7 separate regions of the Homo sapiens genome follow, and regions 2, 3, 4, 5, 6 and 7 are each linked to region 1. Evidence: promoter capture Hi-C in 16 types of primary human blood cells and fetal thymus (Javierre and others, 2016). All regions are on one chromosome and are shown on one strand. The core of a region is centred on a gene start or on the middle of the fragment in contact, and the rest is flanking DNA. Distances in the headings are between cores, read along the strand shown.

Region 1 (2,700 bases), core at 1-2,500:
CTCAAGAAAAGATTCATTCTAGAAATCACCTACTTGCTGTATAAACAATGCAGGTGGTAGTTAACACTTTACAGATTTGAAAGGCAGTGGAACCCCAGGTCATTATTTGAAATTCTACCAGGAGGGATCCATTCTTGGGTGTAAAACATCACTCCTCTTCGATGTTTTCTTTTATATGGCAGTTTGGAGAGCAAAGATTAATAAGCCGAAAAATAATTATTGAATATCTACCAAAATGCAAGCACCTGCTAGGAACTGTGCTGCCACCATTTCAAATAAACATGGTCTCTGCTCCCAAGGAGCTCACAATCTGATGAAATTACTAGGGACACCAAAAACAAGCCAGCATAATACACGATTTGAGGGCTACAGTGTATGATTAAGATCAAGTTCTTATCACACTGCTATGAATAAATTTATCATAGTTCTTCTATTGGCAGGAAAACAAGACAGAACATGACAGAAATAGGATATAAGAAAATAAACATAAAGAGAGGAAAGCCTATTTCCCCCACTTAGAATCACAGTCCAACAGTCCACAATTTCGCAAAGTGGATCCTGCCAGCATGGTATCCGGGATAACTATATTATTCATTAAAATCCGTTAACAATGAAGGTTAATGCAGCAGGAATGAGTGGTAGACAGTGGAATAGATCCTCTCAGGAATTAACACCCGGAAGGGTGACTTTCATGATTACAAACCTCTTTGGCGGGACGCAGGAACCCAGCGCCCGCTAGCCCACTAGTCCGTCACTCTGCCTCCAGGAGGGAGGGGCACAGTAGCTAGGAAACCGGACCCTCAGGCCAAGCTTCGCGATGACGCGCGCAGGACGACGGAAACCCCCAGACCCCAAAAGAGCTCTGCACCGAGAAAACAATTACAAGGGTCTGGAAAGGCCAGAAACCCGAGAAATCACCAACCGAGCTCCCTACATCAGTTCCAAGCACCTCCCCAAGGCGGAAATAACGGGCACCGCGCCCACTGCAGCTCAGCTGAGGAGGGTTAGAGGCGCAAAGGGCTGAGGGGCGTTCTCCGGCCCACCCAAAGAGCGCCCGCGGGAATTTTTCTCTTAGTCCGCGAGGAGGCACGGCTTCCCCCGCCCCTCTCATAAACCATTAGCACCGGGAGCGCGAGCGAGTCCCAGCCGGGAGACAGCCCCGCACCGCCCTCGCGCTCTCACCTTTCAAAGCGCCTCCACCTCTGCCTCCGCCTCCGCCCCTGCCCCGGCAACCAGCTCAGGACAAGCGATGCTCCTCCCCCCCTTCCGGGGACCAAGGGAAGTCCCGCCTCTGGGTGGGGCGAGGGGTGGGGCCAGGCGGCGGGAGGGATCATCTTCCGGGAGCGTGGCTAGGGGCGGAGCGACTGCCGCGCGATAGTCAGGGAGCTGTGCGGGTCCTGGTTGCAAGAGAGGTGGGGAGAGGGGCCTGGCGGGTTTTGAGGGACTGGGAGGACTGTCCCGGCTAAAGCTGGCGCGGGAAACTGGGGCTGCGCGGCGGGAGGGCCCTGCTGCTGGGGAAGGAATCTAATATATCCGTTCCCCTGAGGAAGGGTGCCAGTCCTTGACTCCTAGGCTCTTCGGCTCTCTGTCGTAACTTTGGGGTGTGGCAGGGGTTAGTGACGCGCGGTTACCCGGGATCTGGACGTGCAGGAGGTTCGTGGCCACAATGGGGGTATAGTCTTTCTCACGGCTGCTGGGGTAATAAAACACATGCTTTTAATCCGGATTATCCGCGGTGACATGGGGCCTCCGCTACTGCCCGTATAAGTTAAAGAAAGGCCTGTTCTCTCAAACTTCCTCCTCTTTCACCTTCTTCTGCAGTCTATTTGCCAGCCAACCCCAGCCCGGGAGGGGATCAGGGCCACCAGGTTGCTGGTAAGGATGAAAGACTGAGTGTGTTAAGACTGTTGAAGTGAGCCTGTGTAAGAGAAGGAAGGATTTTGTGGATTGCTACATTGTGAGTGTGGGGTGAGTCCCAGAACCTCGCTATGTCAGGGAAACGGAAGCGTGTGGTGTTGACTATTAAAGATAAGCTTGATATAATAAAGAAACTTGAAGACGGAGGTTCTTCCAAACAACTGGCAGTGATTTATGGAATTGGTGAAACAACAGTTCGGGATATAAGAAAAAATAAGGAAAAGATTATAACTTATGCAAGCAGTTCTGATTCCACAAGTCTTTTGGCCAAGAGGAAATCTATGAAGCCATCCATGTATGAGGAATTGGACAGGGCAATGCTGGAATGGTTCAACCAGCAAAGAGCAAAAGGGAATCCCATATCTGGACCAATTTGTGCAAAAAGGGCAGAGTTCTTCTTTTATGCTTTGGGAATGGATGGTGATTTTAACCCCTCTGCCGGTTGGCTAACTCGTTTTAAGCAGCGGCACAGCATTAGAGAGATTAACATTAGAAATGAAAGATTAAATGGAGATGAGACTGCGGTGGAAGATTTTTGTAATAACTTTCGAGATTTTATTGAACGAGAGAATTTACAGCCTGAACAAATCTACAATGCAGATGAAACTGGACTCTTTTGGAAGTGCTTGCCTTCTAGGATTTCAGTAATCAAAGGTAAATGCACTGTCCCTGGGCACAAATCAATTGAAGAAAGAGTCACAATCATGTGTTGTGCCAATGCAACAGGTTTACACAAACTTAAACTTTGTGTTGTGGGGAAAGCAAAGAAACCTCGCTCCTTTA
Region 2 (2,700 bases), core at 1-2,500, 1.8 Mb before region 1:
GAGTTATTCTTTAAACACATAGTTACTAATTAATTGCATCAGCAGCACAAGTATTAATCCCAAAGTCTCATTTAACACCATTGTTTAGAACTCTCCTCTTATCAAATCTGTTAATAAATAGCCTGGATTGAGTTTCACCCGCTCTACTTTCTCTAAACCCATGAGCTAATAAAGCAGGAAATGATTATGAAAGAAGCCACAGTCCGCAGATCCTGGGCTGACATCACAGGCTCTTTCTCATGTGAATTCTGGAACAAGCCCATTGCTATGTTCTGTCCTTGGCCTGTTTTATTTGAAAGCTCGTATTTTATTTCAACCTTCTTTTTTCCATGAAGTATCCATTTACCTGTTAGATTTATATGCATAGCTTCTGTCTTCTAAAACATTCACCTGATGATTTTAGGAGTGGACTGTAAGTGCAGCAGAGTCAGAGTGCGAGAGTTTGAATTGGATGAGTCAGGACCATCTAGTTGCTGAGACGGTTCGGCCAGCCAGTCACATAGGTCTGTTAGTATCTGCAGTCATGGGGTTGATGGTCCTGTCACCTGCTGGGCGAGTTTTAAAAAGCCGCTGGGCATTGGGACAGTTCACTTATATACACATAAAAGAGGCTGATTCTACATAAAGAAACTAGTTTTACAAATTCCTATGTGTGTGAGAATTACTTTTGGAGCTGCTGGCCCCTAACATAATGTAAGCACAGAACAGATAATTGTTAAGTACTTGTGCGCTGATTAAGGCTAGACATTCCAGGCTCCAGACAAGCAACCACTAAGGAAAATAAAGATATTTTTGTCTAAATCATGCAAATTAGCTGAATATCTTGGTCTCATTAACCTGATGTTTTCTGAAACATTCATTTTTAGATTCCTATAGCAATTCACTCTTACAGAAATCTTAATCCTGGTTGAGCTTGAACACTCTTTCAGACATTTGATACTGTGAGACTTGGGATTTCAAAAGTTCACTTTCAACCCCATTTTGAACAACAGAATTATTGATTATAGGGATTCTGGACAATTGAGAAGATCTGATTTTCTACCAAACCATTTTTTACACTGTAAAAATTATTGCGAAATGTTTTTGTCATATTTTGTAGTTTAAGAAACAATTTTAGACTCAAAAGGTTATTTTCTCTAATAATTTTTCCTAAAACTACTAGTTTGTTATGAAAATTTATTTGTATTATTTCTAATGCCATATAAGTATGTGCTACTAAGAAGGAAGTTACATAGCTTCAAAATTAATCTTTTTATGTAGCATAAAAGTACAAGAAAATCCAGCTGCATTTGTTAGAGCTATACAGCAATATGTTGATCCTGATGTTCAGCTGGTAAGTACAGGATACTTTTTGAACTCCTTTAATCTATAATTTTAGTTCTGCTTTATATCTACAGTCTGAACATACCCTCCCATGATATATTTGCAAATTGCCATGCATTTCTCCAAAGCACCGAAGAAAATATTAATCTTAGTATTTTAATCAATATTTTATTTCCTTTCCACATTTCTAATATTAATTTTAAAATACAGTACTTCTTGTTACCCCTATAACAGCCATTGGTGTCTGCATATTTTGCAACTCATTGGGGTCATCTTTTCCTTAAGATTTAAGATAAACTGACTCCCACCTCATCACATAAATGTTGGTATCCAGTGTTCCCTATATTTCAGGGGATTCTTGGAGGGTTAGGTTTTTCCAAGTGACCTATGGCCCCAAATTCCTGCTTCCTGTGAATTCTTGCCACCTTCTGTGCATTTCAGAGAGGACCACTTCCTCCGGTGCTGCATCACCTGGTGGGACATCCACAGTTGCCTCATTTCCCAAAGGGCATGTGTGTGTAGCTGACTTTGCAGACTGTTTGGGGCCAAGGCATGATTACATCACATCCCAACATTCCAGAAAAATTAGAATTGACATCCCTGTTCTTAAAAATCTTTCAACGATTCCTATTTCCCAGGAATGTTTACTCTTCTACCAGACCTCAGCACCCCCAGGCTATTGTAGGGCTTTTCCTGTCCATTCCATCTACCCTTCTTACCTCCCTCGCTCACTCAGTTCAACATCCAACATTCTTGTTGTTATGTCATGCAAACTAACTGAACTAGCTAAGTGCTATCTCTTTGCTTTTCTTTTAGTGAGTTTCTCTTTTACTCTAAAGGATCTTATATGAAACAGAGAATTCTCACCCTAAGAGCATTTATTTTTTACTTAAATCAAACTTATAGAAAAGTGACAAGAACAGTACAAACAACTCTCTCATATACCCTTCACCCAGAATCCCAAATTATTGACCTTTTACCATATTTGCTTTATTATTTTCTATCTTTTTTGCTGAACTATTTGAGCATAAGTTACAGGCATGATGCCCCAGTGCCCTTGACTATTTCAGTGCATATTTTCTATAAACAAGGTCTCTATCTTACAGAAGCATATGACAATCATCAAAATTAAGAAACAGTTTTCTTCATTTGTCTCAATTGTCACCTCTGTAGGAAAAGGCTCTACTGTCCTGCACTTAGTTGTCCAGTCTCTATAGTCTCTCCTTCAATCTGGAACAGCTCTTTAATTTTCCTTGACTCTGATGACCTTCCAATTTTGAAGAGTACAGACTAGTTATTTTGTATAACGTCCCTCGATTTGGGTTTGTCTGATGTCTCCTCATGATTAAATTCATGTTATGCACTTTTGGCAAGAGT
Region 3 (2,700 bases), core at 142-2,641, 1.8 Mb before region 1:
CTTTGCACTGAAAATATTCTTTTCCTATTTGAGAGTTTTGTCCAGACATAGTAGAAATGCACCCAACAGGGGTCTACCAATAATAGGATAACCATTTTGTGAAGCATGAGGGTGGAGGGGACTTAATAAGTTTCAGGGCCAGTGCCATGCCTACATATACACATTTAATCTCCACAAGAACTGTATAAATTAGGTTATAATGACCATTTCAGATGGTAAAGCTGGGGATTAAAGATACCACGTGACTCACTGAAGTTTATGAGATTAATAAATTGTGGAGCTAGAATTTGTCCTCAGGTTTGTTTGCAAAACCTGTAAGATGAACCAAAAGAGTCTACACCCTTGATAAAAGATACTCTAAGATTTAAAAAATTTCTCCCAGAGCACTAATGTGAGGTAGTGCCTTATGGGATTTAAAGATGGCATTATATGGCGGGCACCTGTAGTCCCAGCTACTCGGGAGGCTGAGGCAGGAGAATGGCGTGAACCCGGGAGGCAGAGCTTGCAGTGAGCCGAGATTGCACCACTGCACTCTAGCCTGGGACGACAGAGCAAAACTCTGTCTCAGAAAAAAAAAAAAAAAAAAAAAAGATGGCATTATATAGCAAGTCTTTGGAGACAAGGCACTGATCCAATTCAAGGTGGTGGGTTTTGTTTTTGTTTATCTTGTTGTTTTCTTCCTTCAAAGTAGAACGGTGATATAAATCCCCACTACCTAACCAGCCAGCTTGTATAAATCCACACGAAACATTTTGATTAGGCAATACAACCTTCTGCAGAGCGCCCACCCACCCTTTTAAGTACTGCCCCAGGAAATGACTTCTTACCCCTTTAACCCACCAGAGGGCACACAAGGACTGCTGTGTGAATAGAGTCCTTCATCATGGCAGTGTCATAGGCTTCAACAAACAATTTCAGGTAAACTCCTAGAGGGCAACATGGGACTAAGAAATCTTCATATGAGCTCTGGTTCCAGCACGTTTGGTTGTCAGATGTGATAACTTCACTTTCTGGGACTCAGTTACCCAATCTGTAATATGAGAGGGCTTGGACAAGACCAGTGGTGCCTAATCTTGAGAAGATTAGAAGTTCCCATGTTTAAAAGCTTTAGAACAAAAAAATAGAGATGCCTGGGTCTACCTCTCAAAATAGTGATTTAAATGGTCTGAGATGGGGCCTGATCATCCGAATATTTTAAAAGTTCTCGAAATGGTTCTGATGTTCAGCCAGGGCTGAGGAATACTGGTTTAGATAATATATGAGACCTATTTCAGCTTCACGTTATGTGATTGCCACCTCTCACATGCATTAATTAGTTTTCCTTAGGCTACCAAGGACAAAGAGGAAAGGGAGCCTGTGCCAGGCTTCAGAGCAGCACTGGATTTGAATCCTAGAACCACCACTTATAGTCGTGTGACATTGGGCAAGTTACTTAACCTCTCTGAGCCTCAGTGTATCTACTTGTAAAAATGTCTAACAATGTCTGCATTGTAGAGTTATTGTAAGGATTAGAAATGTCAAATCTGAAGTATCTGGCCTTAATAAAGGGTATCATCTTATTAGACCTGAGGAGAGGAAATGAATCAAATGGCACAATTTAGTTAACAAATAGTTATGGGTTTCTATTATGTGCCAGGCACTGTACTAGATTCTGAATTCTACAATTCTACTTAAGGGAAAGCTTAATATTGTCTCTAGAAATAAACAATCTACCAGTTCCTATTTTATAGAAAGGATTTTGTAGTTTTTCTTTTATTTTGAGAACTGAGGGAGAGACTCTGGAAGAAAGTATACTTTAAATACATTTCTGTGGCCACCATGGAGTGGCCCATCAGATTATCCTTTAAAAGAACCTTCTGCAAGGAGCATAGTTGGCTGACAGCCTCTAAATGCTACAGCTTCAGGATCCACCACAGGGGTGATGAGACCATACCCTCCCCAGACTGATTCTAGCCCATTACTGAGCACAGGAGAGGTAATAGATCTGGGTTGTTTCTGCCCAACATGGGACTCCACTATTAGTCTCTGATAGGTAATATGCTGTGTTTAGCTCTGTGTCCCCACCCAAAGCTTATGTTGAATTGTAATCCCCATGTGTTGGAGGAGTGGCCTGGTGAGAGGTGATTAAACCGTGAGGGTGGATTGCCCCCTTGCTGTTTTCATGATAGTGAGTGAGTTCTTACCATATCTCGTTGTTTGAAAATGTGTAGCACTTCCCCCTTCTCTCTCTCTCTCTCTCCTGCTGCCATGTGAAGATGTCCTTGCTCCCTTTTTGGCCTTCTGCCATGATTGTAAGTTTTTTGAGGCCTCCCCAGCCATGCCTCCTGCACAGCCTGTGGAACTGTGAGTCAATTAAATCTCTTTTCTTTTTCTTCATAAATTACCCAGTCTCAGGTAGTTCTTTACAGCAGTGTGAGAATAGACTTAACACAGTAGGGGAACCCACTTTGTCTTGACCAAGGTTTTCTAAGAACTGCACTAAAGTTTTGAGCTTTTTCTACTGATCCTCTTTCCTTCCCACTCCGTTTCATGTATTTCAGATTAGCACTGAGGTCTTAAGGCCCTCCCTAGTCACTCCTACTTCCTCTCACCAGTATTCTTCACAGGTGTTTCTCCCAGTAAATCTTCTGAATGCTTAATTCTGTCTTGGTGTGTGCTTCTTAAGGGACCCAAACTGACACAACTTTCTTCCCTATTAAA
Region 4 (2,700 bases), core at 24-2,523, 1.9 Mb before region 1:
TTTCAACAAATAGAGTTGAGAGGCTGGGAATTCGTATTTGTAAATTATCTATTGGTTATTCTCCTTTTCTTTAATTGATTAAGGTTTATATGTTGTGTAACCCTTTAAGCTGATATTGGTTTAAAAATTAATATGGCAGCTTAGCAGAATAAACATCAGTTCCTTCAGGAAGCCTTCTTTAATCCCTTAGGACTAGGGGAATTATGAACCTCCTGTATACTCATGGTTTCTAGACAAGGTCTTGTAGTAGTACTTATCATGTTGTCTTTGCCAGACACATGATGTCTTTGCCAGTCACCTACACTAGAGTAAGCTTCCTGAGGTGAAGACATGGATCTTGCTCATTATTGAATCCCAGTACCCAGAAGTTGGCACATACCAGACATTCTATTCATATTAGTTGAATGAAGGAATGAATGACAGCCAAAATTCAGTTGAAAACAAGGACCCAACTAAGAACTATAGTTGCCTATCAATAAACAGGACTACTTTTTAAAGCAGTGAATTTTCCTAGGCCTGAAATTATCAAAGTAGAAATAGGATAATTAGTGTAGATGCTGTGATAAAGATATATGTACCGATGACAGATTGGAACAGATGTCCTTTTGGGGGCTATTCCATCTTCAAGAATCCCTGATTCTTCGAAATAGTATTTTTAGGAATTAGAAGTTTTTATTTCTGCTCTATATTATCTGTGTGTCTAGTTTATAAAAATCTTGAATGCACCTGTCTTCATTGTATTAGTTATACTTCAAAACCTTTAAGCATTCATCACTGTTAGCATAACACCATCATACCTAAACCAGTAGATTAAAAATAATAGTTATAATAATATAATTGACTTAGAAGAAAACAACAAAAGTAAGAAGCATTAGACCACTATTAGATCATAGTTTGTTGTTTTCTGTCAGCATCAGTATTTAGTGTATGTAAGGGATATCATGAGAAAAACAAGAGTTTAGACAGGGTTTAATTGTATATGTTTGCAAGACTTATCTATGCAGTTGATAAAGCCTGAATTATTGTTTTACTAATAACTTTTGTATTTGTGTTTTCAGATCTTGATGAACAAAGCAGTCATAATTCATCTCTAGAAAGATTTATATCCTGGCATTTGAAATGCTTTTTATTTAGAATAGTAGTAAAAAATGGAAAAAGAAAAAGGAAATGATGATGGAATACCAGACCAAGAGAATTCCTTGGATTTTTCTGAACACTTTAACCAACTTGAATTGTTGGAAACACATGGACACCTTATTCCTACTGGTACTCAAAGTCTTTGGGTAGGCAATTCTGATGAAGATGAGGAGCAAGATGACAAAAATGAAGAGTGGTATCGATTGCAAGAAAAAAAAATGGAAAAAGACCCAAGCAGATTGCTTCTTTGGGCTGCTGAAAAAAATCGGGTAAAAAAAAAAATTACAGAGGGAAGTGTGACAGTAGGAAAAGCACTGGGTTCAAGCCAGAAGACCTGCCTTTACTGTTATGGCCATCATACCTATCTCTTGATTGTGAGGACCAAATGAGACAATGTACATGAAAGCACATATTAAGCTGCAAAGTGTCATGCTAGGTATTATTTGGGGGTTTAAGGATAATTATCTATAAAGATAGCAAGCAATCATCTATATTTTAAAATCATTTATATAAAGTCATTAGGATCATTTAGGAAAGAGAGGATGGAAACTAACATTTATTAAAAACTAACTATACCAGGTACCTTATTACATTATTTTATTTAATCATCATGTATCCCTATAAGTAATATTCTTCTCTTTTATAGAGTAAGAAATTGAGATTCAGGAATATTAATTTGCCCAGGATCATCGAAGTGGAATGAACATCAAAAGCCTATTCCCTCTGCTTGGCCACTTCCACCTCATTTTACTAAGTTTCCCCATGTCTGTGTTAGTAAACTAATAACTAAAAGGGTCTCGCATTTTAAATAGCTTTTTAACCCAAGAGCATGCCACATTTAACCAGAGGCCCATAGAACAAACTGAAAATTACAACCTAAAAGGTTGTTTCTAAGGTTGTATTGAGAAGGAATTGAGCTCTTGAATCCCTAGAATTCCTTATTAATACTTTATTCTTCTGTTAAAAGTTTTATTTTTAAAAGTTTCATACAGTGTGTATATTGGTGTGATAATCCTACAGAAAAATCAAGCAGTTATGTTTTCTTCACAGATAACACATAAAATATTAAACAGAAAGCCTATGTTATTCATTGGACTGAAGCTTTTATGCAATAAACCTTAGTTGGACCAGGAGTAAATGTATGGTTTGATATTCAGAGAATCTCATTCTTAGAAGCAACAAAGTGTAGTTAACACTAACTTGTTCATTCTTAAATCAGTAGTCCTCTCCTCCCCAAAAAGAGATCTTAAATTATTTTCATTTTAAAGTCATCTACTAACAAGTAAGTTTTTATTCAACTTAATTAAATCTAACACCACAAGACAATTTTGTTTTAGTTATTGTTTTGGTTTGAGTTGAGTTGAAAGATTTCTTTTTTTTCTTCTCAGCTTACCACAGTGCGGAGACTCCTTTCTGAAAAGGCCACTCACGTGAACACTAGGGATGAAGATGAGTATACCCCTCTTCATCGAGCAGCCTACAGTGGACACTTAGATATTGTTCAGGAGCTCATTGCACAGGGGGCCGATGTTCATGCAGTGACTGTGGATGGCTGGACGCCCC
Region 5 (2,700 bases), core at 186-2,685, 1.3 Mb before region 1:
CTTTGTATAAGTGGAATTTTGTGTGTACTGATTATTTTGCTCAATACTATGTCTTTAAGATTCTCTGTATTGTTGCATGTGGCTGAGTTTATTTTTGATGCTGTGTAGTGTTTTACTAATTAATAAATCATAATTCAGTTTTTACTGTTCTATTGATGGACATCTGGGTTGTTTCCTATTTTAGTTATTCTGAATAAGGAAGCAATGAATATTTTTATACATAAAACCTGATGTACACGTGTATATATATTTCAGGTATCAATCCCAAAAGTGCATTTTCTGGGTTATAGATCAAGTACATATTCAATTTTGTTAGATAATTTTCAACTATTTTCCAAAGTAGTTCTACCAATATATACTATTATCATCAATTGATGAGAATTCTACTTGCTCCACATCCTCATTAACACTTGTTAACGTCAGACCTTTTAATATTTGCAAATCTGATGGGTATATAGTGGTATTTCATTTGGTTTTAATTTTCTTTACCCTGATTACCAAAAGGTTGTAGCTTTTTATTTGTTTGTTTTTTAGCCACTTGGATATCCTCCTTTGTGAAGTGCCTTTTCAATAATTTGTCCACCTTCCTATTGGGTCACCTGTCTTTTCTTAACAATTTAAAGGTATTTTCTATGTATCTGGATCTTATTTGTCTTTATGCCCTATAAATATATTTTCCCATTCTGTGGCTTGTTTTTTAATTCACTTTATGATGTCTTTTGATGAGTTATTTTTACACTAATGTAGCTAAATTCTTCAAACATTTTGTGGTTAGTGTTTTATATGTCTTGTTTTCTAATTTGAAGCAGTAAAGATAGTTTCATATATTATTTCCTATACTCAGTATAGTATTGTCTTTCAGCATTTAGTACTTTAACACAACTGAAATTGATTTTTGTGCATGTGGTGAGGTAAAAATCTAACATAATTTTTTTCCTACTTGGATATCAATTTTTAAAGCACTATTTATTGAAAACTCCTTTCCTATCCAATCTGCCACCTCTACCATATATTAGTATCCATACTGGGTAAGTTTACTTCTGGATTCACTATTTATTTCTATTGAGATATATACATATACATATACATACTGTGTATGTGTATATATACATGTATACACATACATATACATATATAAAGATGTAGATATATATAGAAGATATAAAAGATATATAGTCTGTAATATATAACATATATATAATTTTATGTAAATAGAATATATATAAAGTCTAAAATATATTTTATTTATATTTCATATATATTATGTATACTTATATATAATATATAAATATATAATGTAATTATGTATTATATATATAGAGAGAGAGACAGGCAGAGACAGAGACAGAGAGAGACAGAATCTTGCTCTGTTGCCCAGGCTGGAGTGCAGTGGTGTGATCTTGGCTAACTGCAGCCTCGACTTTTTGGGCCCAAGTCATCATCTCACTTCAGCCTCCCAAGTAGCTGGGACTACAGGCACACACCACCACATCCAGCTAACTTTTGTATTTTTTATGGAGATGAGGTTTTGCCATGTTGCCTAGACTGGTCTTGAACTCCTGAGCTCAAGTGATCTGTCCGCCTTGGCCCCTATTAGTATGTTTTTTCCATGCCTGCACCTAATACTGTCTTAATTACTTCAGCTTTATAATAAACCTTGATATCTAATAAAGCAAGTTCTCTCATCTTGTCTTCATCAAGAGTGGCTTAGCTATTCTTGGTGTTCCTCTTCCAGGAGAAGTGGATAACAAGATGAGATACTGAAAGTTCTACCCCTTGAACGGTTTTTCCCTTCTCCAGAATTGCTCAGGGACATACTGTGTAGGTTATAATGCCACCATGACCCATGCTAATGGTTGTAGCCACTTATGCACAGCCATTTGTAACTGAGCTTGATAATTTTACTTCCTCAATCAATTGCTTACCAGAGAATTCCCTACAAGGCTATATGTGAAGACTGGAAGAGGATAGCAGAGTGGCAAGAGCAGGCATACTGGGGACTATAAGTCACCTGCTTATGTGATTTACTTGTGTCTTCAGAACATGTCCCATCTTGGTCATTTCAGTCTTATTTCTGCTTGAGGGCAGAGAGCTGGCAGGTGTGACTCACTTTGTGTCTTGTTAGGTCAGTCATCACCCAGCTCATGATGGGAGGCTCAGGTCATATGCTCACCTATGGTCAAGTTTTTTTTATCTCTGCCAGGGCCCAAGAGCAAGTGAAGAGCTTCCAATGGAGAACTGTCATTTACTCAAGAGGAGAGTTATCTACTAAATACAGCATGGATTTGCTTCAGAAACCCAGAACAGTGGTTCTCAAACAGAAATGTACATTTGAATCCTGTGGGGATCATGTTAAAATGCAGATTTCAATTCAGTGAGTTTGGTCTGGGGCCTGAGATTCTGCATGTTTAATAAAATCCCAGGTATTGTCAGGGCTGCTGGTCATGGACCATTCTTTAAGTAGCAAGGATGTAGAAAACTCCATTGTGATTCTCCTGTGGGAACTTGATATGAAACATCAGTGTTTCTCAAAGTGTCCTTCCCCTCCTTGCAACAGCAGAATCAGTATCACCTGGAAACGTGTTAGAAAATTCCAGAATTGGTGAGGCCAATTCTAGGGCCTCACTTCCCAGACCTACCAAATTAGAAACTCTAAGATAGGACTCAGCAATCTGGTTTAACAAGCTCCCCAGGTGATTC
Region 6 (2,700 bases), core at 151-2,650, 1.8 Mb before region 1:
AAATGCACAAAGAATCATTTGTTACCAAATGTAAAAGAATCATGGACTATTCTTCCATGTTCGAAATCTAAGATGATTCAGAGTTCATTTAGTCCAGCCTCTTCATTGTAAGAATAGTAATATCTCCTTCCACATGGGTAGCAGACATGTTTTTGCCCACCTAGCATCCTTTCCCTCTTTTTCAGGTAACACCACCTCATTTTTTCTTTTGGGTAACTTCTCTCCCCGCACTGTTATTCAAGAATAACAGATTATTCCACATCTGTTATTCAGATGGGACTGATTCTAGCTCCAGAGGAGGGTCTAAAGAGAGTACCCATTCCCTGACCACAGTGATTGCTTCAAGAATGAGCACTCATCCCAGGTTTGGCCAATGACAGCAGTCTAATTTGATATCATTTCTGATGCCTGTTGCCAGGACTATGCTTAATACATGTACAATATTTTCCACTGAAAGCTTAAGGGACATTTCAAGGTCATAGCAAGTCATTCACATAGCCAAGATCTCCGGATGTCTTCTCATTTTGTAGTGGGGAAAGAGATACCAACAGATAATTTCGGTGATACATTAAGGGCATACATTCATTCAACAAATATTCACTACTAGAAACCTGGTTCCGTGGTGGGTGTTCAGGATGGAATTATGAATGAAACAGTCATGATCTCTGGATGTCCCATGATGTTCTGAAAGGTGCAGCATGTGTGAGAGTGCACAGGAGGGCCATGTAAACTACCCTGGATATATGTTTGTGGGTATCCAGAAAGGCTTCCCAGAGAAAGAAACCAGCCTCCTAAATCTCTCTGAATCTATCCTCCTTTAATTTTCTTCCTCATCCTCACAGCTACTGTCTCAGTTCAGGCCCTCTTTATTTCACATCTGAATTACAGCAATAACTTTCCAACTGCACACCACCACACCCCTACTCTTACCCTATTTTTACCCAACTCACTCTTTACTAATGACAGAATGATTTTTTCTTAGAAACTTTTTTCTAAAGTATAATGTCCACCCATAAAAGTACATATGTAAGCATACAGTTTGATGAACTTCCATAACCAAACACACCCATTAACCAGAGCCTACATTAACAGTCAGCATTCCGCAGCCCCCCCGTGTCCCCATCCATATACTCACCCTCCTTATACGTAATAAAAATAAGAATTCATTTTAAAAATGAATATCGCTTCCTTCCTTTGTTAAAGCCTTCCAAGGACTTTCTCGACAGCCTGCAGGATAAACACCATCTCCTTCGCCAAACTATACCCTAGTAATTCCTCGCCTACTGCCCCAGTCTTCCCTCCCTGGCCTCTGCAGTGCTGCTCCCTCTGTGGCAACTAACACCTCAGCCCTCTTCCTCTGCATTGTAATGATTCCTAATTATTCCAGGAGCCACCTCCTCAAAGCCTTCCATGATCCCTTCCCTCCCCACTATCTGTTTCTCTCGTAGATTTTTGAAGGTAGAAACCGTGTTTTGCATTTGTTTCCCAATTTGTTAAATGAACAAGTGAGTAAATTTATTAATTTCCCATAACTCCTTTCCTCCCTTTCCTTCTCCTCTACCCTACCAATGGCTCTTTTAAAATAAGAACAATCCAGTCCCCTGTGAATGTTTGTGCATGTATGAGATGCACAATGATCACGTATGACCTTCAACCAGCAATTTGCGAAGTCACGACTGGTTTCCATTCATCCAGACACACCTTACTACCTAGTATCCCCTCCTCCCACATCAAATAAGGGTATAGTAGGGGCAGTTTGTGGTCTCAACCCTACCGAGGTAAGAGGGCACAAAGAAAATTGATATGCATGAGACCTCGGGCATTCTTCAGGTAAAAAGATGGCTTAATTGGAACATTCGGAGGCTTAAGAGAAAATCGGGAGTGGTGGAAGGAAGCAATCAAGCAGGGTAATATTTCCCAAATGCCTACCGGCCACGTGCCAGACACAATGTTAGGCTCTATCTGTGATGTCTTATTTAACTGAAGAGGGAGAAGAATGTGAATAAATGGCTGGATTCTTGAATTGCATAAAAAGAGAAGCCAATACACTTTTTCCTTTATTTCGTTTAAACAAGTAATTTGTGCATTTATAGCTTTTTCTTTTAATTAAAAGTAAGAGTGGAAAAAAGTCACTGAAATGTCTAATTTCAAATAAAATATTTGATTTCTAATTTCTGTTTTTCAAACAAACAAAAAACCCCAGAAGCATTATGAAAGGTTTTACTGTGCAGGAGGAAATGTTACTAGGTTGATGGGCCTAGCCAGAACACCTAACATCCTCCATCTAGTCTCCAAACTGAGGCTGTGGCCCTGCAGAGAGCGCCACCCGGAAGCCACTTTTATAGAAGCTTTTACACACAATGCTTGATTTTTTTTTTTTTTTTTCCGAGACGGAGTCTCGCTTTGTCGCCCAGGCTGGAGTGCAGTGGCGCGATCTGGGCTCACTGCAAGCTCCGCCTCCTGGGTTGACGCCATTCTCCTGCCTCAGCTTCCCGAGTAGCTGGGACTACAGGCGCCCGCCACCAAGCCTGGCTAATTTTTTTTTATTTTTAGTGGAGACAGAGTTTCACCGTGTTAGCCAGGATGGTCTCGATCTCCTGACCTCGGGATCCGCCCGCCTCGGCCTCCCAAAGTGCTGGGAGTATAGGCGTGAGCCACCGCGCCTGGCCTATACTTGATTTTTAATGAAAACATTCTTAA
Region 7 (2,700 bases), core at 135-2,634, 1.3 Mb before region 1:
TATTGAGAACTGGAGCAAAGTTTACTTCTGTTATGTGTTAGCCAAGAGGTTGGCTGCACTGTGCCCCTTTCTAAGGATCTGTGGAACTTTGAACTTGAGAGTGATGATTTAGGGTATCTGGCAGAAGGAATTTTTAAGCAGCAAAGAGTTTAAGATCTGGCCTGTCTGCTTCTAACAGCCTAGGCTCACATTCATGAACAAAGAAATGACCTGAAAGTGGAACTTATATCCAGTTCCAGTGAAGCAGAGTACAAAAGGGCAGCAAAATGTAAAAGTTCAAGGAATTTGCAGCCTGGCCATGTAGCAGAAGAGAAAAGCACATTTTTAGGGGAAGAATTCAAGCTGGCTGCAGAAATGTACATCACTAAAAGGAAGACAAGTATTAGTAGCCAAAATATTAAGAAAAACATCTTGAAGGCATATCAGAGACCTTCGTGGCAATGCTTCCCATCACAAGCCTGGATGTCTAGGAGGACAGAATGGTTTTGTGGACCATGCTTAGAGCCCTGCTGTCCTGTACAGCCTGTGGACACTGCTGCCTGCATCCCAGTTGCTCCAGCTCTAGCTGTGGCTCAAGGGGCCCAGGTAGAGCTCAGACCATTTCTTCAGAGTGTGAAAGCCATAAGCCTTGGAGGCTTCCACGTGGTGTTAAGTTCAAGGGTGCACAGAATGCTAGAATTGAGGGTTGAGAGCTTCTGCTTAGATTTCAGAGGATGTATGGAAAAGCCTGCATGTGCAGGCAGGAGTCTGCTGCAGGGGCAAGGGTCTCACAGAGAACCTCCACTATAGCGGTACAGAGCAGAAATGTGAGGTTGGAACCCCCACACGGAGTCCCCACTGGGTACTGCCTAGCAGAGTTGTGAGAAAAGGATCACTTTCCTCCAGATCCCTGAATGGTAGACCAACCAGCAGTTTCCACCCTACTTCTGGAAAAGCTGCAGGCACTTAACACAAGCCCATGAGGGCAGCTGCAGGGGCTGAACCCTGCAAAGACACAGGAGCACAGCTATGCAAGTCCTTGGGAGTACACACCATGCACTATTGTGCTCTGGATATGAGACGTGGAGTCCAAGGAGCCTATTTTGGAAGTATAAGATTTAATGTCTGCCCTGCTAGGTTTCAGACTTGCTTGGGGTCTCTAGCTTCTTTCTTTTGGCCGATTTCTCCCTTTTGGAACAGGAGTCTTTACCCAATGCCTGTACCCCCACTCTATCTTGGAAGTAATTAACTTGTTTTTGATTTTACAGGCTTATAGTCAGAAGGGATTTGCCTTGTCTCAGATGAGACTTTGGACTTTGGACATTTCCGTTAATGCTGAAATGAGTTAAGACTTTGGGGAACATTTGAGAAGGCATGATTATATGTTGCAATGTGAGAAGGGCATGAGATTTAGGAGGGGGCCAGGGGAGGATTGATATGGTTTGGGTCTGTGTCCCCACTCAAATCTCACATAGAATTGAAATCCTCAGTTTTGGAGGTGGGCTCTGGTGGGAGGTGATTTGCTTGTAGCGGTGGTTTCTCATGAATGGTTCAGCACCATCCCCCTAGTGCTGTTCTTGTGATAGAGTTCTCACAAGATCTTGTTGTTTAAAAGTGTGTAACACCTCCCGCCGGCCTTCCTCCTGCTCCCACCATGAAAGATGTGCCTACTTCCCCTTTGCCTTCCATCATGATTGTAGGTTTCCTGAGTCCTCCCCCAAACCAGACACTGCTATGCTTCCTGTACAGTCCACAGACCTGTGAGCCAATTAAACCTCTTTTCTTTATAAATTACCTGGGTATATTCTTTATAGCAAAGTGAGAATGAACTAATATAGACACCTTATTCATCCAAGCCAGAAAAAATAGAGAAACCTAAGGATATGAAAAACTTAGATAACATTAACAATAAGGTAGAATTGACAAACCAGATGATAGAAAATACTTCCTCTCTTCAGGTGCTGTTGACAGCTGTTGTGATACCTCTGGTTCTTCTTAGTTTAAAATAAATTAAACAAGAGACATACAGCAAAAGAAGAACAGCATAGAGTAATTTATTGTGAAAGAAAAATAATATTTTGAAAGTTAAGTGCAGAATAGACTGTACACACTGAGAGTGAAGGAATTCAGGGAGGGCTGCTTGTTAGGGTGAGACAGCATTGATTATTGCTGGAGAAACCCCCATTATGGGAGTTTTACATGGTTATTCATAAGGAGGTGGTAACAGGTGTTACTAGTAAGCAGGTCCTGATGGTCTTCTGTACATGTACAGTAGCTGTACATGCTTATTCATACATCCCATGTCTCATTAGCATCTTAAATCTCCACCCATGGGTGTGTTTTTTACTATTGTAATGAGCAAAAGATCAGTTTGAGGACAGGTAAAATCAAAATGTGCATGCTCTCTGGAAGGGAAAGTCCCTACTAAAGATAGCTTTGCTTGAGTGAGCTCGGTTACAATATGACTGCTAAGGCTTATTGTATTGGCTCTATGGTCACCACGGTCACTGCATCCCAAGTATATGTCAGGTCCTTGACAACCTATCCTGCCAAAGAATCAATCACAAAATTTGACAATATATCAGTGTGAATAGAAAATATCAATATCTTCTTTAAACAAAATGAAAAAAATTCAAACATTCTGAATTATCATGCAATAAAATTTGAAATATTTTTGAAAGTCAGAAAATGTACAGGTCCTTTTCCTGGTAGGTTAAATTT

What was found. The method cuts DNA at HindIII sites, captures the fragments that hold promoters and counts their contacts. A CHiCAGO score of 5 or more calls a contact.
Region 2: a fragment that was not itself captured here is called in contact with the fragment with the promoter of CCDC82 in region 1 in 1 of 17 cell types (monocytes); the score reaches 5.7 in monocytes.
Region 3: a contact is called between a fragment that was not itself captured here and the fragment with the promoter of CCDC82 in region 1, in 1 of 17 cell types (fetal thymus). The highest score is 6.2, in fetal thymus.
Region 4: a fragment that was not itself captured here is called in contact with the fragment with the promoter of CCDC82 in region 1 in 7 of 17 cell types (fetal thymus, naive CD8 T cells, total CD8 T cells and 4 more); the score reaches 16.1 in fetal thymus.
Region 5: a contact is called between a fragment that was not itself captured here and the fragment with the promoter of CCDC82 in region 1, in 2 of 17 cell types (erythroblasts and fetal thymus). The highest score is 5.6, in erythroblasts.
Region 6: a contact is called between a fragment that was not itself captured here and the fragment with the promoter of CCDC82 in region 1, in 1 of 17 cell types (fetal thymus). The highest score is 7.2, in fetal thymus.
Region 7: a contact is called between a fragment that was not itself captured here and the fragment with the promoter of CCDC82 in region 1, in 1 of 17 cell types (total B cells). The highest score is 6.5, in total B cells.

The regions. Positions count from the first base shown.
Region 1 is chr11:96,388,662-96,391,361 of GRCh38, forward strand. It overlaps CCDC82 (coiled-coil domain containing 82), which reads right to left and starts at 1,251. Exons shown (of 10, transcript NM_024725.4): 1 at 1,183-1,251. JRKL (JRK like) reads left to right here and starts at 1,352. Exons shown (of 2, transcript NM_001261833.2): 1 at 1,352-1,412; 2 at 1,822-2,700. The coding sequence starts at 1,989. RefSeq lists a silencer at 1,165-1,424. The HindIII fragment of the contact is 1,223 bases long and covers 809-2,031 here.
Region 2 is chr11:94,602,724-94,605,423 of GRCh38, forward strand. PIWIL4 (piwi like RNA-mediated gene silencing 4) reads left to right here. Exons shown (of 20, transcript NM_152431.3): 13 at 1,261-1,333. All of the region lies in intron 4 of PIWIL4-AS1 (PIWIL4 antisense RNA 1), which reads right to left. Among named protein-coding and RNA genes, the nearest start is that of LINC02700, 34 kb to the right of the region's middle. RefSeq lists an enhancer at 184-403. The HindIII fragment of the contact is 3,104 bases long and covers 1-2,700 here.
Region 3 is chr11:94,622,469-94,625,168 of GRCh38, forward strand. All of the region lies in intron 4 of PIWIL4-AS1 (PIWIL4 antisense RNA 1), which reads right to left. Among named protein-coding and RNA genes, the nearest start is that of LINC02700, 14 kb to the right of the region's middle. The HindIII fragment of the contact is 576 bases long and covers 1,104-1,679 here.
Region 4 is chr11:94,495,546-94,498,245 of GRCh38, forward strand. It overlaps ANKRD49 (ankyrin repeat domain 49), which reads left to right. Exons shown (of 3, transcript NM_017704.3): 2 at 1,059-1,406; 3 at 2,526-2,700. The coding sequence starts at 1,149. It also overlaps a transcript of MRE11 not described here. Among named protein-coding and RNA genes, the nearest start is that of ANKRD49, 2.9 kb to the left of the region's middle. The HindIII fragment of the contact is 1,925 bases long and covers 312-2,236 here.
Region 5 is chr11:95,071,066-95,073,765 of GRCh38, forward strand. SRSF8 (serine and arginine rich splicing factor 8) reads left to right here. Exons shown (of 1, transcript NM_032102.4): 1 at 1-160. Among named protein-coding and RNA genes, the nearest start is that of SRSF8, 5.5 kb to the left of the region's middle. The HindIII fragment of the contact is 5,025 bases long and covers 1-2,700 here.
Region 6 is chr11:94,540,258-94,542,957 of GRCh38, forward strand. No RefSeq gene overlaps it. Among named protein-coding and RNA genes, the nearest start is that of FUT4, 2.3 kb to the right of the region's middle. The HindIII fragment of the contact is 1,891 bases long and covers 456-2,346 here.
Region 7 is chr11:95,053,259-95,055,958 of GRCh38, forward strand. No RefSeq gene overlaps it. Among named protein-coding and RNA genes, the nearest start is that of KDM4F, 5.2 kb to the left of the region's middle. The HindIII fragment of the contact is 3,470 bases long and covers 1-2,700 here.